Linked DNA regions of Homo sapiens: region 1 is linked to region 2. The links are contacts of gene promoters, found by promoter capture Hi-C in human tissues and cell types (Jung and others, 2019). All regions are on one chromosome and are shown on one strand. The core of a region is centred on a gene start or on the middle of the fragment in contact, and the rest is flanking DNA. Distances in the headings are between cores, read along the strand shown. Region 1 has its middle 60 kb from the start of ABHD17B. Region 2 holds the start of KLF9 (KLF transcription factor 9).

The links. The method cuts DNA at HindIII sites, captures the fragments that hold promoters and counts their contacts. A contact is called where the count stands out against the background at its distance.
Region 1: a fragment that was not itself captured here is called in contact with the fragment with the promoter of KLF9 in region 2 in 1 of the 25 tissues and cell types used here (dorsolateral prefrontal cortex).

Annotation. Positions count from the first base shown.
Region 1 is chr9:71,848,482-71,853,851 of GRCh38, forward strand. No RefSeq gene overlaps it. Among named protein-coding and RNA genes, the nearest start is that of ABHD17B, 60 kb to the right of the region's middle. The HindIII fragment of the contact is 6,828 bases long and covers 362-5,370 here.
Region 2 is chr9:70,411,441-70,416,569 of GRCh38, forward strand. It overlaps KLF9 (KLF transcription factor 9), which reads right to left and starts at 3,217. Exons shown (of 2, transcript NM_001206.4): 1 at 1,419-3,217. The coding sequence starts at 1,923. KLF9-DT (KLF9 divergent transcript) reads left to right here and starts at 2,750. Exons shown (of 4, transcript XR_001746710.3): 1 at 2,750-2,970. It overlaps LOC124900273 (a long non-coding RNA gene), which reads right to left and starts at 1,366. Exons shown (of 2, transcript XR_007061576.1): 1 at 910-1,366. RefSeq lists silencers at 982-1,174, 1,910-2,089, enhancers at 1,250-1,359, 1,698-2,551, 2,380-2,459, 2,800-2,929 and a promoter at 2,266-3,068. The HindIII fragment of the contact is 13,608 bases long and covers 1-5,129 here.

The DNA of each region.
Region 1 (5,370 bases), core at 2,526-5,025, 1.4 Mb after region 2:
ATGGCTCTCATAAACAACCACCTGTCTCAGACCCAGAATGCCTTATCTCTTCACTTATTCCAATTTCAACTGGTGTACTGAAGCTTTCTTCAATTAATAATAACAATAGAAATCTTTGTATGAATATCTACCTAAATTATTTCCCATGTATTATCTTCGAAAAGACCCAGTAACGCAGGCAGGGCAAGTATTAATATTGCAACCACTTATAGATGAGAACATTTAAGTTTTGAGCGGACGGTATAAAGTCATGCTGTAAATGGTAGAGCCAGAATTTGAATCCAGATATTTAATGTTAAAAAGCCTCCCTTTTCCATTATACCGCTTTTCTAAGCCTCCTTCCACGTGGATCTAAATAGTCCATGATTCGGTGACTTTGGGAGCCACAAATATGTTTTAAGCAATGGCAGTATCTTTCTAGGGACCCTCCCTCAAGAAGTAGACCCTGAGACAAGGGTTTGAATGCAAATACAGACATACCTCAGAGATATTGCAGGTTCAGTCTCAGACCATTGCAATAAAGCAAGTCACACATTTTTTTTCATTTCCCAGTACATATAAAAGTTATGTTTATATTACACCAAAAGTAATTGCAACAAAAGCCAAAATTGACAAATGGGATCTAATTAAACTAAAGAAGCTTCTGCACAGCAAAAGAAACTATCATTAGAGTGAACAGGCAACCTACAGAATGGAAGAAAATTTTGGCAATCTATCCATCTGACGGAGGTCTAATATCCAGAATCTACAAGGAACTTAAACAAATTTACAAGAAAAAAACAAACAACCCCATCAAAAAGTGGGCAAAGGATATGAACAGACATTGTTCAAAAGAAGACATTTATGCAGCCAACAAACATACGAAAAAAAGCTCATCATCACTGGTCATTAGAGAAATGCAAATCAAAACCATGATAAGACACCATCTCATGCCAGTTAAAATGGCGATTATTAAAAAAGTCAGGAAACAACAGATGCTGGCCAGGCTGTGGAGAAATAGGAACGCTTTTACACTGTTGGTGGGAGTATAAACTAGCTCAATCATTGTGGAAGACAGTGGGGCGATTCCTCAAGGATCTAGAACCAGAAATACTATTTGACTCGGCAATCCCATTACTGGGTATATACCCAGAGGATTATAAATCATTCTACTATAAAGACACATGCACATGTACGTTTACTGCAGCACTACTTACAATAGCAAAGACTTGGAACCAACCCAAATGCCCATCAATGATAGACTGGATAAAGAAAATGTGGCATATATACACCATGGAATACTATGCAGCCATTAAAAAGGATGAGTTCATGTGCTTTGCAGGGACATAGATGAATCTGCAAGCCATCATTCTCAGCAAACTAACACAGGAACAGAAAACCAAACACCACATGTTCTCACTCATAAGTGGGAGGTGAACAATGAGAACATATGGAAACAGGGAGGGGAACATCATGCACTGGGCCTGTTGGGGGGGTGTGGCGCAAGGGGAGGGAGAATATTAGGATGAATACCTAATGCATGTGCGGCTTAAAACCTAGACGACAAGGCCGGGCGTGGTGGCTCACACCTGTAATCCCAGCACTTTGGGAGGCCAAGGCGGGCAGATCACGAGGTCAGGAGATCGAGACCATCCTGGCTAACACGGTGAAACTCCATCTCTACTAAAAATACAAAAAAAAAAAAATTAGCCGGGCGTGGTGGTGGGCGCCTGTAGTCCCAGCTACTCGGGAGGCCGAGGCATGAGAACGGCATGAACCCGGGAGGCGGAGCTTGCAGTGAGCCGAGATAGCACCACTGCACTCCAGCCTGGGCGAAAGAGCGAGACTCCGTCTCAAAAAAAAAAAAAAAAAACCTAGATGACAGGTTGATAGTAACAAACCTGCACATTTTGCACATGCATCCTAGAACTTAAATAAAATTTTAAAAATAAATCTATTTTTGTCCTCACAGCATGCAGTCTACCCTGAAGTACCTCTAGAATTTTTCTATCAGGAGGGATTACGACAGCAATCTGGATGAAAATAGAGCCCAGGAAACTTGTCTTAAGAGATATGTGTGTATAGAAAGCACATTAAAACAAATCAACAAACAAAAAAGTTATGTTTCTATCATACTGTATTATATTAAGTATGCAATACCACTGTGCCTAAAAAAGCAATGTACATACCTTCATTTTAAAATATCTTGCTGCAAAAAAAAAAAAAATCTTGTCGCTAAAAAAGGCTACCAATCATCCAAACCTTCAGCAAGTTGTAATCTTTTTGTTGGTGGAGGCTCTTATATCAGTGTTGATGGCTGCTAACCAGGATGGTGGTTGCTGAAGGTTGGAATAGCTGTGGCAATTTCTTAAAGTAATAGTGAGGTTTGCTGCATCAGTTGATTCTTCCATTCAGGAAAGATTTCTCTGAAGCATAAGATGCTGTCTGATAGCATTTTCTCTATATAACTTCTTTCAAAATTGGTGTAAATGCTCTCAAACTCTGCTGCTGCTTTATTAACTAAGGTTATGTCATATTTTAAATCCTTTGTTGTGTCATCTCAATAATGTTCACAGCATCCTTACCAGGAGGAGATTCCATCTCAAGAAACCACTTTCTTTGCTCATCCATAAGAAGCAACACCTCAACTGTTCAAGATTGTGTTTTCTTTTTTGAGACAAGATCTTGCTCTGTTGCCTAGGCTGGAGTGCAGTAGTATGATCATGACTCACTGCAGCCTCCATCTCCTGGGCTGAAGCAATCCTCCTGCCTCAGCCTTCCAAGTAGCTGGGACTACAAGCACATGCTATCATACCCAGCTAATTTTTTAAAAAAAACTATTTTAATAGAGATAAGGTCTCACTATGTTGCCCAGGCATGTCTCAAACTCCTGAGCACAAGTGATCCTCCTGCCTCAGCCTCCTAAAGTGCTGAGATTACAGTCATGATTACTAGGATTACAGGGCCACTTCACCGGGCCCTGTTCAAGTTTTATCATGAAGTTGCAGCAATTCAGTCACATTGTCAAGCTCCACTTCTAATTCTCCTGCTATTTCCACTACATCAGTACTTACTTCCTCCACTGAAGTCTTAAACTCCTCAAAGTCATCCATGAGGGTTGAAATCAACTTCTTCCAAACTCCTGCTAATGTTGCTATTTTGACCTCCTCCCATGAATCACAAATCTTTTTTTTTGAGATGGAGTCTCACTCTGTTGGCCAGCCTGGAGTGCAGTGGCACGATCTTGGCTCACTGCAACCTCGGCCTCCCAGGTTCAAGCAATTCTCCTGCCTCAGCCTCCTGAGTAGCTGGGATTACAGGTGCCTGCCACCACACCTGACTAATTTTTGTATTTTTAGTAGAGATGGGGTTTTGCCATGTTGGCCAGGCTGGTCTTGAACTCCTGACCTCAGGTGATCCACCCACCTTGGCCTCTCAAATGCTGGGATTACAGGTGTGAGCCACCGTGTAGGGCCCACAAATGTTCTTAGTGACATCCAGATTGGTGACTCCTTTCCAGAAGGTTTTCAATTTACTTTGCCCAGATTCACCAGATTTACTATCTATGGCAGCTATAGCCCTATAAAATGTATCTCTTAATAAGACCTGAAAGTCAAAATTATTCCTTGATCCATGGGCTGCAGCTTGGATGTTGCATTAGCCACTATAAAAACACTAATCTCCTTGTACATCTCTATCGAGCTCTTAGGGTGCATTGACAATGCGCAGTAACATTTTGAAAGAATTCTTTTTTTCTGAGCAGTAGGTCTCAAAAAATGGGCTTAAAATATCCAGTTATCAAGCTGTAAACAGATGTGCTATTATCCAGGCTTTGTTGTTCCATTGATAGAACATAGGCAGAGTAGATTTACATAATTCTTAAGTGCCCTAAGATTTCCAGAATGGTAAATGAACACTGGCTTCAACTGAATGGTAAATGAACACTGGCTTCAACTGAAAGTGACAAGCTACATTAGCTTTATATATATATTATATATTTATATATATAATATAATATTTATATATTATATATATTAGCTTTATATATAGCTATAAATATATATAATAAATATATATAAATAAATATATACATATATAAATAAATATATATAAATAAATATGTGTGTGTGTGTGTGTATATATATATATATATATATATATATTCTTTTTTTTTTTTTTTTTTTCCCTGAGACAGGATCATGTTCTGTCACCCAGGCTGGAGTACAGTGGTATAACCATAGCTCACTGTAGCCTTGAAATCCTGGACTCACGTCATCCTCTGGCTTCAGCCTCCTAAGTAGCTGGGACTACAGGCATACGCCATCACCTTCAACTAATTTTTTCTTTTTCTTTTTTGAGACAGAGTTTCACTCTGCTGCCCAGGCTGGAGGTAGTGGCGCGATCTCGGCTCACTGCAACCTCCGCCTTTGGGTTCAAGTGATTCTCCTGCCTCAGCCTCCCAAATAGCTGGGATTACAGGTGTGTACCACCATGCCCAGCTAATTTTTGTATTTTTGGTAGACAGGGATTACAGGCGTGAGCCACTGCGCCTGGCTAATTTTTTCTGTCTTTTGCAGAAATAGGGTCTCTAACCTGGATTAGGCTTTGGCCTAAGGGAATGTTGTGGCTGGTCTGATCTTTCTAGAACACTTAAAAAACTTTCTTCCTATGACCAATATGGTTGTTTCACTTTCTTATCCATGTATTCATTGGAGTATCACTTTTAATTATCTTCAAGAACTTTTGCCTTCCATTCATAACTTCTTAACTGTTGGGTACAAGAGACCTAGCTTTTAACCTGTCTTAGCCTTACACATACCTTCCTCACTAAGCTTAACAATTTCCAGCCTTTGATTTAACATGAAAGACTAATGACTCATCCTTTCACTTGAACAGTTAGAGGCCATTGCAGGGGTTTTTACATTATATATACATATATAAAATATATAATATATATATAAAATACATATAATATATATGCTGCTTATATCAAAGGACTTTTAAATAATCCTATAATATACGTGAAAGGGCTCTTAAAATTGTAAAGCTATATTCTATTCCAATTATTATTAGAGAAAATGAGCATGATGTCTGTGTATAATATATATATATTATATATATGTATATATTATATATATAATATAGAGTATGTATATTATATATAGTATATACATTTATATATTATATATAGTATATATAGTAGTATATATAATCATATATTATATATACTATATATAATATATATTAAATATAGTATATATATTATATATAGTATATATATTATATATTATATATAGTATATATAGTATATATTATATATAGTATATAGTCTATATATTATATATTGTATATAGTCTATATATTATATATATTACATATAGTCTATATATT
Region 2 (5,129 bases), core at 1,967-4,466:
CAACCTTACAGATACAAGCCTTAAAATGTGCTGTTTTATGGCAACCTAAATGATGACCCCAAACAGAACCTGATTTTGCATTAACCATGGAGGAAATTCAGTCTGATTCCGGTGCCAGCAGCCACCTCCACAAGAACAAGTTTCCAAAGGAAATGGAATGAGAAGCAGTTACGTGGCCTTTCTTTTAAAAAGGAAAGCAAAACAAAACAAAAAACCCCAATCAAGTATCATTTTTTTCCATGTATCATTTTTAAACCACAGGCCCAAGACCTCATCTTAAAAGTATCGAGGTATTACACCAAAAAATGACAACACTTTTCCAACTAACTCCAACAATACCCTCTCAAACACGGTGTCACAAGACAGAGGCAAAAGGCTTATCTGAGAGGACCAAGCCCCGCTACCTCTGAATGGCGCTTGTAAAAGAACCATTCCGAAGATGGTCAAGACAGCATGTCCAAATGTGAATGCTTTCCAACTTTTACCGTTCATGTTAAACACAACCAACAGAATTGGATGACCCAGGTCCCTGGAAGTCTCCAAAGCCCATTTTAAAAGGCAGATAGATGTCTTTCTGGCCACATTCATTTGTACGGCCATGCCTCTCACCCTCCCTGGGAGGAACTATTCCCTGAGGCCTCCAGAACCGCCCAACATTCATTACCAAGCCTTGACCTCCGGCAAGGACCACACCTCCCTGCAAACCGCGATTCAGGGGTGGAGGGTGCGACCTAAGTCACATGGCCAAAAAAAAAAAAAAAAAAAAAAAAAAAAGTCAGCTCTGAAACCTGGCTCATCAGGAGGACTCATGAGTGAAGTTAACCACCATTACTTGATCAGACTCCTATGCTGCCTGAAGCCGGGTTATTTTAAACCTCTCGGGGGACTCCCAGCCAAATTTAAAACCACCTTGGCAAGCCCAAAAAAGTAGCAGGCATCCAGTTAAATGAGTCCTTAGTCATCCCTAAAAGGCTCGAAGTAAAGTGCGCCGCGTCCCCCCTCGGTTTCAACCACTTCTCTGCAACCCGACAAGAGAATTAAATAAAAGATACGCCATCTGACTTCCCCGCTGCCAGCGTCTCCCAGGTGGGGTGGCCCCACCGTCGCGGGGTGCGGGAGAGTCCCGGGGGCGGGGCGGGACAGGGGAGGGGCGGACACCACTCCCCGCGAAGCCACGCACCGCACTCGCTCTGCCCGCCAGTTTAAGGCTCTCCGTGGCTCCCGGAGGCCGGGGACAATTAAGGAGAGAGTGAGCTTTCCGCCAATGCACATTTAAATTATTTAAAGAGTTAAACCGCATCTTATCCAACATGTTTGCACCCTTTCGGCCGAGTGCAGTGTCCCGAACGCCCAGGAACGCTGCCTGGCCAAAGGTTAACTAACCCCAGAGCTCCGGGGGAGAGGGCGACGCCGCTAACCTGTATGCACTCTGTAATGGGCTTTGAGATGGGAGGATTTTCCATAGACTTTCCCACAGCCACTGTAGGGGCACTTGTGCCTCTTTTCGGAGGCGTGTTTCCCCTTCGCAGCCACTCCAGGATGGAGGAGGGAGAGCGGGCTGGGCGCGCTGCCAGGATCCTGTCTCTCCTCCGGGCTGTGGGAAGGACTCGACCCAGATTCGGTGGTCACGTCGCTGTCGGATCCCATATCCTCATCTGGACTTTCCAGACTGTCGCTGCACACGGAGGGGGTCTGGATGGGTCGGTACTTGTTCAGGTCCAACAAGCTCTTGGCGATGGTGACCAGTGTGCAGTAATCCTTCCAGGTGTCCCCCGGGTCACCGTGCTCCTTGGTCACCTCGCGCTCAGGTAGTCGCAGCCGCTCGGCGTCCGGAGCGACCCCATGCTCCGGCACCGCAGCGCGGTTCGAAATGGAAACCAGACACTGGGCAGCCACGAAGTCCATGTAGGCGGCCGCGGACATGGTGCGGGCGACGGCAGCCCAGGCGGCGCGGACAAACTTGGCGGTGGCTGCGGAGGTTCGGCTCGCCCTGCCCTGGCCTCGGACGACGAGCGCGGCGCGGCGCGGCACGGCGCGGCGGCCAAGGGGGCGGGGGCGCGGGGCGCTTCCGACTCGCAGGAGCGCCGAGGCGACCTCAGCCCCTCATCTTTACGTAACCGGCAGCGCCTCCGCACGCAGCATCCACGGCCCCGGGCTCCGCCGCGCCGCCGCCTCTAGCCGCCGCCCCTGCCCCGCGCCGGCCGCGATCCCCCGACGGGCGCGCCGGCCCCTCTGAGCCGGCTCCCTTGGAAAGATGCCACACGTGGCGGTCGCAAGTTTATTCGACTGAAAACGCCCCCGAGGCGCTGGGAGAGGAAACTGCAAGAGAGGTGCACGCCCTCGGCCGCCTCGCCGTCGAGCCAAAGCCCCAGGACATTCACCCGATCACCCCGACGCGGGTGGCGAGGGTCCCGCCGAGCGCCAGGTCTAAGAGACACTTTTTCCCGAGTCCACTGACGGCTTCTGAACCCCTGCTCCGGCCGGTCCGCACCGTTCCGGCATTCTCTTGCTCAGTAACAATTTCGCAGAATCCCATCACGTCACAAACCAAACCCCCTCCAATTGGCCAGTGGGGAGGGTGATTCAACTCTGTTTACTTTCTCCCCCTGCCAGTCAGAACGGCCTTCGGTGGAGAGGTGCGTCTAGAACTGAGGCGTGCGGCCAATCCGACTGTTCCGTTTCGCTGCCTCGTGCTACCCCTACAGCCTCGAACACTGACATTTAAAAGGGTAACAGCTGGGAGGCAGGGAAGGGGCAGCCGCACACTTTCGGAGTGCCTCGCGGTCCCGTGGCCGGTCCGGGCCTCCTGGCTCACGTTCCAGCTTGCGGAGCTTTGGGACACATCTTTCCTAGTCAGTTGCGCTCGTTCCTATGGCAAAAGAGAACTTCAGCTTCGGTTTTCCAGCTCCCAAACAGTTAAGTGACTTCCTGCAAACGCTACAGTCCCAGCAACCAGCCTTCCAATCAAAAGTAAGTTGGTTGATGTCACTGGCATTGGCTCGGCCAATCACAAGGGCGTTCCGAAAGCAAGCGCTCGACACTTGTAAACGCGAAGAGCTGTAGTGAAACTGGACACATCTTTGTATTTTGTGTTGCTGGTAGTAAATTTGAGTTATGGATGAGAGGACAGGGGTGATGAATAAATGCAGTGTGAATCTATAATTAAAAAAACCCCATTATGTCAGGATAAGTCCAAGAATAAACACAAATGAGTAAGAATTCGTTTTGTTATATATTTTTTGGATGCAGCATACTTTGGGGCAGATGTTTAAAAATTCTTCCATCCAATACATTAACTATGACCAATTCATCTTAAAAATGCAGTGCTAACAAAAGTTCTGGTTTTACAGCATAGCCTTTTTACTGCCTGAGATTCTTCCATTGAAACATCCCATCTTTGCTTGTCATATCTCTTAATTCCTCTACTTCTCTGGTGCAATTTAGTCTAAATAAATTCTTTTAGCTTTATTTGGAGGCTATTTTTAACCCACTTTCAGAAAAACGGAGACAAAAACCATTCATTTGTGTAACTTTTATAAAAAACCCACCATTCTTAGCTCTTTTTCTTTCCAGAGCCCCTGCATGGTTTTTAGGACATGTTTCTCTTCCCTCACTTCACAAATGTGGAAACTGAGTTACAGAGAAGTGACTTATTTATCTTATTAGACAGATAATGATAGAACTCAATAGAAACCACAAGTCTCCTGATTTCTAGCTCTTTGTGCTTGCAACTAAGCCCTTTTGGTTTTGTGAAATATTAACTGTGCAGAACAGATTTTTAGGGACTGGAACAAGCTGGAAATCCTTAGCCATGGAATACTGTGGCATTACTTGGTCAACAATTAGTATGGGTCTTGGAGTCTGATTAACTTGGTTTACCCCTCCGTCTGAATTAACGATGTGGTTGTTTTCCATCTTGATAGCTAGAAAAGAATCTAGGGCTAGTTCTTTTTGCAAGAGGCATACTGTCAGCACAATTCATTAAAAATAATTCACTTTCGTGAATGTGAGAGGTACCTGATTCTATGTGATGCAGATTCGGTGAGTTCCAACCCTGACCCCCCACTGGCTATTAACCTTTGTTAAGAGAAAGTTACACCAGGTTCTGGTCTCCGAGGCAAGGGTCTCAAATTGACTCTACCAATGTGAGATCTACAGTAGTTTCTTTTGACTTTGTTTTTAAAGTGGTACATCAAAAATAATAATAATAAAAAAAAAGTTAGCCAGGCGTGGTGGCTCGCACCTGTAGTCCCAGCTACTCAGGAGGCTGAGGCTGAAGGACTGCGTCAGCCTAGGTCAAGGCTGCAGTGAGCCCTGATTACACCACTGTACTACTCCAGCCTGGGCAACAGAGCAAGGCCCTGTTTTTTTTGTTTTTTTTTAAATCATAACTAAGGGTGGCTCAGGTAAGTAAGAGTATAATAGATTTTAATTAAAAAATAACAAACCTGACAAGACCAGTTCAATAAAAGTGTACAGCTTAAAAAAATAAAGAAAACAACAACAAAAATATTAAAGTGGTACAGGGAAGATATTGCAGTAGGTGACTGCAGGTGGAAGAAAGGTGTAGATAGGGGATACTGGGCAACCAAGAATATCATCACCATCAGCATCATTATCACCGACCCCTTTCATGGAGGGCTTACTCTGTGTCAGGCCCTGTACCAAGCACCCTGCATGCATCCCTGTAAGGTAGGTATACAGTGTATAAAAAACTCCAAGCCATCTTGGAGTTCTTGCATTTTTAGAACTTAATCTCTTAATTTTAGAAAAGAATTCACTGAAGCCCAGGGGAGTTTGCCTACTTCATGATTTTTCTGGGACAAATTTTGTCCCCTAGGATACACGATCACTTAGAAATTGCACCTTTGCCTGCCTCAAGGCCCAGTGCATATACCAGCGGGATCTCTCCAGGATCTCTATGATCATGGCCTGTACAACCCCTCAGACTTGCATTTTAACTGGGATTGTACTGGTGAAACAGACTGCTCGGGCCTGGACATCTATAGACAGCCCTAGGACCACCATCATCATTATTCCAGAATAGAGGAAAAGTCTGTATCTTTCCTTGAAGATTATATAATCCAGGAATTTGAATACATCAGTCACTTTAGGTTTTTTAAAAATAT